2 separate regions of the Homo sapiens genome follow, and region 2 is linked to region 1. Evidence: promoter capture Hi-C in 16 types of primary human blood cells and fetal thymus (Javierre and others, 2016). All regions are on one chromosome and are shown on one strand. The core of a region is centred on a gene start or on the middle of the fragment in contact, and the rest is flanking DNA. Distances in the headings are between cores, read along the strand shown. Region 1 holds the start of THEM5 (thioesterase superfamily member 5). Region 2 has its middle 20 kb from the start of RIIAD1.

Region 1 (2,714 bases), core at 139-2,638:
GATTACAGCCTTGAGCCACTGCGCGAGGACTGATCTTTAGAACATGCTTTTATTTTAGTCAATTTAAAACTGAGACTTTTAATTGAAAATTGGCAGTTTAAATTCAATAGAAGACACACCACCACCAAATCCCACTGCCTTGCAGATGTTGGCTGAGTGTCCCTTCCCACTCAACAAAGCCTCACTGCCGCGCCCACCTCACTCCCAGCACTGCCTGCTGACATGAGCCACTCCCTGGGCACGGGGTTCCCAAAACATGAGAGTATCCCTGCCAAGCTGTTTCCTCCCAAATTATTTTCTGCCCTCCCTGTCAAGCCCTCCCCCACCTCCAACTCCTATCCCCAGCCAGAGACCAGCAGGTGAAACTCTCCTGTGCTAACCCTTGTCCGGGATATAAGAAGAGGTGTTGGCCGGGTGCGGTGGCTCACGCCTGTAATCCCAGCACTTTGGGAGGTCACCTGAGGTCAGGAGTTCAAGACCAGCCTGGCTAACATGGCAAAACCCCATCTCTACTAAAAAAAATATACAAAATTTAGCTGGGTGTGGTGGTGTGTGTCTGTAATCCCAGCTACTCAGGAGGCTGAGGCAGGAGAATCACTTGAACCCAGGAGGCGGAGGTTGCAGTGAGCCGAGATCACGCCATTGCACACCAGCCTGGGCGACAAGATTGAAACTCCGTCTCACCAAAAAAAAAAAAAAAAAAAAAAAAGAGGTGTCTAAGGCTGTGAGTTGGTTTTCTTTTTTTTTATTTTTTTATTTTTATTTTTTTGAGACGGAGTCTCGCTCAGTCGCCCAGGCTGGAGTGCGGTGGCTAGATCTCAGCTCACTGCAAGCTCCACCTCCCAGGTTCACGCCATTCTCCTGCCTCAGCCCCCTGCGTAGCTGGGACTACCGGCACCCGCCACCACGCCCGGCTAATTTTTTGTATTTTTTTTAGTAGAGACGGGGTTTCACCGTGTTAGCCAGGATGGTCTCGATCTCCTAACCTCGTAATCCGCCGCCTCGGCCTCCCAAAGTGCTGGGATTACAGGCGTGAGCCACCGCACCCGGCCTGTGAGTTGGTTTTCTGAGTCACAAAATCATACCAGAGTTTTCAGAGTCCGGTATACACTGCAGAGCACATACCAAGAACACTCCACCAGCACCCTCCAATCAAGGGACAGGCTTCCCTTATCCTTCTGGAAATATTCTTGGATTCTCCCTCAGAACCCCCAGGCAGCTCTCCAAGGCTCTATATACCCCATACTATTTGTTTATGTACTTGTTTACTCCTTTTGCAACTCAAGCCAGTCCTGCTGCCTTTTCATGCCCAAGCAGCATCTGTCCCTCCCCAAGCACTGGGTGGGGCTCCTAGACCAGCTAAAGGCGCCGAGCATCTGTGGGTGTTGCAGCACACCAGCCCAGCCTCGCCTAGCTCTCTGAAAGAAAGCCTGCAACAGAAGGGAGAGAAGCGGCCCCAAGTGCAGCTGAAAGCACTCCTTGGGAGTCAGCCAAGACCCTCCATCCAAGCAGGGCTGGATCCTTGCACTTGGCCATGATAAGGAGATGCTTCCAGGTGGCAGCAAGACTTGGCCACCACAGAGGCCTTCTTGAGGCCCCCCGTATCCTGCCCAGACTCAACCCTGCCTCAGCATTTGGATCCTCCACAGACTCCATGGTGAGTTCCCAGCTCAGCCAGATGGGCAGTGTTTTCCCAGGAGCCTAGGGCTTAAGGAGCACCCCAAATCTCCTCTTCCCAGCCCATGGCCAGGGCAGGTGGGCAGTGTTCGGAGGAGCTATTTGATTTGGCAAAGAGAAAGTGCTCTGGGATACCAAGTTGCCCCCATTCAAAACTAAAACTACCAGGAGACCTGCATCTGGCTCTGTGTCTTGTGTGGCCACCAACAAATGACTTTCCTCCTGTGGGACTCAGACTACTGCAGCAAAGCTGGGGTATCCCCAGACAGAGGACCCCATCTGTGGCATTGGCAAGCAGCTCACATGCTGTCTACAGTTGTGACTGGTGTATGAGCAGGTGACGCTACAGAGGACTTCCTTACGTCACACAGATGGGCACATAGTCTGTGCCCCAGCCATGGCACCACACCTCTGTGGGGGCCCAAATGTGTTTCAAAGGAGCCACCCTGCCCAGGCAGGCCCACAGCAGTGGGCAGAGCTGGAGTAGCCCCTGAGGTGGGGGTTGCTAGAATGGTCCTCAACAACTGTGACCCTGCCCTGCAGAGGAGACAGCATCTAGTGCGACCACCAGCTCTCACAGTCACATGCTTGGCAACCTTGGCCGTATTCCCTCAGTTTCCCCATCTGTACAGTGAGGCTAATATGAGCAGTTGTCAACTTTAAAGAACTGCTCACATGTTTTAAGCAGAACAAGGGTAAGGCACCACATCGAGCAGCATGCCCATCATCTCTGGCCCCACTCCCTGCCCGCCCTTCCCTTGCTCTTTAGCATCCTTATGCCCCGTCACCCATAGGGGTCCGCAGCCCCCCTGCAAGGAATATGGGCCCTTTCCCTTGGATCGATACTCTGGCAGAAGGGATTGAGAAGCCCCAGCACCCAGGAACAGCTGTTTAGAGGTCCCGAGCCCAGGCAGCAGCCCCCCTCCAGGATGCTGTCTAGTCATTCTGATTTTTCCTGCCCAGTTCTCAAGATTCTTGCCAGAGAAGACAGACTTGAAGGATTATGCTCTTCCCAATGCCAGCTGGTGTTCGGACAT
Region 2 (2,700 bases), core at 116-2,615, 110 kb after region 1:
AGTAAGCCCAGCTCTGTGACCGTATACCCTATGTCAGCCCTGGCCTACAGAGAACAGCCAACCCTGAGCTTCTCTTACCAGCACATTCTTCATCACTTCAAGAAATTGAGTATTCTTTCCACGCCCAGCCTCGCATGCCCACTCTTTTGAGCCTTTTAAAGAAAGTGAATATTCTTTGGGATGTCTGATGAAACATAAGCATTTGGTGAGTTTTCTGACTTTACATATTAATTCTAGCATACCCACTCTTTCTTTTTTAAATAGAGATGGGGTCTTATTATGTTGCCCAGGCTGTGCTTGAACTCCTGGGCTCAAGCAGTCCTCCTACCTCAGCCTCCCAAAGTGCTGGGATTACAGGCATGAGCCACCACACCCGGCCTAGCAGGCCCACTCTTTTGAGCCATTTAACACCTCTTCCACTATATGCCACAGCACTCCTCACACGCCTACTTCACTTAATGTGGGCCATGACTTTCTCCAAGCTTCCCAGAGCCATCCCACTGTAACCAAAACAGGTTCAGTTGCTTGCTGCTTACAGAGTCCAATTAACAAAAGCAAGGTCTGGTATAAAGAAAGCGACTTTTTATTCCAAAGCTAGCTTAGGGGAAGAAGGTATAGCCTCCGGCTTTTAGGGTACCACTTCACTCTTGGAGCAGAAAACAGGTGCTTTTAAAAGGGGACCTGGCATGCTGACATGAATGGCATGCAGGGGAAGAAGCAGGCAGCTGGGGTGCCTGCATACTCGCTTTGGTGCCTTGTCTACTGGGTGGCCGAGCTGGTGACTACTGGCACCTTCATGGGCAGGACTAGGTTGCCAAAGCAGCCAAAAACTCTCCAGGTGAGAGAGTCTCATAGCAGGCATACATTGGCTTGTAGATGGACTTGTAGGTTGTCTCTTCAGGTAACCTCCTGCTTGGGTGAGAGTTCTGCTCTGGGACTTCTAAACACACAGTTAGATGAACTTGCCCTGTAGGGAGTGTCTGGTGAAGAGGAGGTAAAAGGCTATAACTGCATTTCTAAATGCAGTTATAGGGGAAAAGCAGAAAAGAGAAAAAGAGAGAAAAAAATAAACTATCTCTTGGAAAATGGGGTACTCAGTTACACTATCAGAATGTTAGCAACATCTCTTAGGGTCTTTGTCAGAGTACTAAATCCCATATCCTAAGAATGGGCTCCCATAGGCCAGGCGCAGTGGCTCATGCCTGTAATCCCAGCACTTTGGGAGGCTGAGGCGGGGCGGATCGCAAGGTCAGGAGTTTGAGACCAGCCTGGCCAACACGGTGAAACCCCATCTTTACTAAAAATACAAAAATTAGCCGGGCATGATGGCAGGCATGTGCCTGTAATCCCAGCTACTCAGGAGGTTGAAGCAGGAGAATCGCTTGAAACCGGAAGGTGGAGTTTTCAGTGAGCTGAGATCACACCACTGCACTCCAGCCTGGGCAACAAGAGTGACACTCTGTCTTAAAAAAAAAAAAAAGAATGGGCTCCCATATCCATACACTCTCCCTTATCAAACTTTATGTCCCACCCTCCTTGATCCAACACCCTCAGAATCCAGTCCCATACATCTCCAACCTGTATTTGCTAGTTAGGTCCTCTTGAACCTCCAGGGCATGGTGCATTTTTTCTCTTAGGGGAATCTTAGCTGAGTTCTAAAAGTACTTAATCCTAGTTATTGGTTTGCAGATCAGGAGAGGAGGTGGGGTAGGTTTTGAAGGGAACCTGTGTGGTCTTGCAAGCCAGAGGCTTCTCTATCATCCTTAAGCAAGGAAGTAGTGATAGCCTTTACCAGGAACAAGTGGGCACTTTTGCAGGCCCAAAAGATGGAGAATTTAAAAATTCAAGATTTTTTAAAGCATTAACCCAGCTGCCCCCACTCCTATGTCTCAGGGTCTCACTCCTTCTTGCCAGTGTTAAGAATTCAACCTTCTTTGGAGCCCTGCTACTGTTACAATTAAATATTGGACCTTATTCTCAATTTTGGGGGGCCTCTAGATACAAAAGATAAAAAATGTCTTTTAAATTGCTAAGGAGGGCCTTGGGCTTTCACTCTTAGCCTTTATTTGGTGATCAATCACCCTCAACCTTTCATTGCCTTTGTCCAATGCATTGATTGCCTCCAGCTAGCCATCCAATTCCATTGTCTTTATAAAACCTGATATATTTATCAGACCTGATATATTTCCCCCACTAAGCATTGCTTTCCCCCAGGATCCCATCCCAGTTCAGCACTAGTGAAAGCTTTGACAGTTGCACTGATACCTTGCTGGGGAATCTCCATGCTCCACCTACTGCCAGTGGCCCTCCCTGCCAGCGGCCAACAGGTATTTCCAGTTTAGAATCTCATTTTAGAATCTGCTTCCTCAGCACTCTTGGCACTGACTGTCAGGCTGGGTTCCTCGGGAAATATACTCTCAGATGGAGATTTGAGTAAAAGCAGTTCATTGAGTCGTGCTCTCAGGATCAACAACACTGGGAGAAAGTGAAGGCCTTAGAACTGGACAGCAGGAACTCAGGAACTGTTGTGGCCCTGCAGAGTTGTCCCCCACTGAGACAAGGAAATCAGAATCATGCAGGGGAATATACTTCCACATTGACCAGTAGATGCAGACTGTCTTAGGAGGGGGCATAATCTTGAATGAATTTTCACTTAAGGGTAACTCCTGGAGGAAGCCCAGCTGGGAACTGTCAGTCACC

The links. The method cuts DNA at HindIII sites, captures the fragments that hold promoters and counts their contacts. A CHiCAGO score of 5 or more calls a contact.
Region 2: a fragment that was not itself captured here is called in contact with the fragment with the promoter of THEM5 in region 1 in 2 of 17 cell types (M2 macrophages and M1 macrophages); the score reaches 5.8 in M2 macrophages.

What each region holds. Positions count from the first base shown.
Region 1 is chr1:151,852,386-151,855,099 of GRCh38, reverse strand. THEM5 (thioesterase superfamily member 5) reads left to right here and starts at 1,388. Exons shown (of 6, transcript NM_182578.4): 1 at 1,388-1,657; 2 at 2,641-2,714. The coding sequence starts at 1,535. The HindIII fragment of the contact is 9,012 bases long and covers 1-2,714 here.
Region 2 is chr1:151,739,789-151,742,488 of GRCh38, reverse strand. No RefSeq gene overlaps it. Among named protein-coding and RNA genes, the nearest start is that of RIIAD1, 20 kb to the right of the region's middle. The HindIII fragment of the contact is 1,762 bases long and covers 485-2,246 here.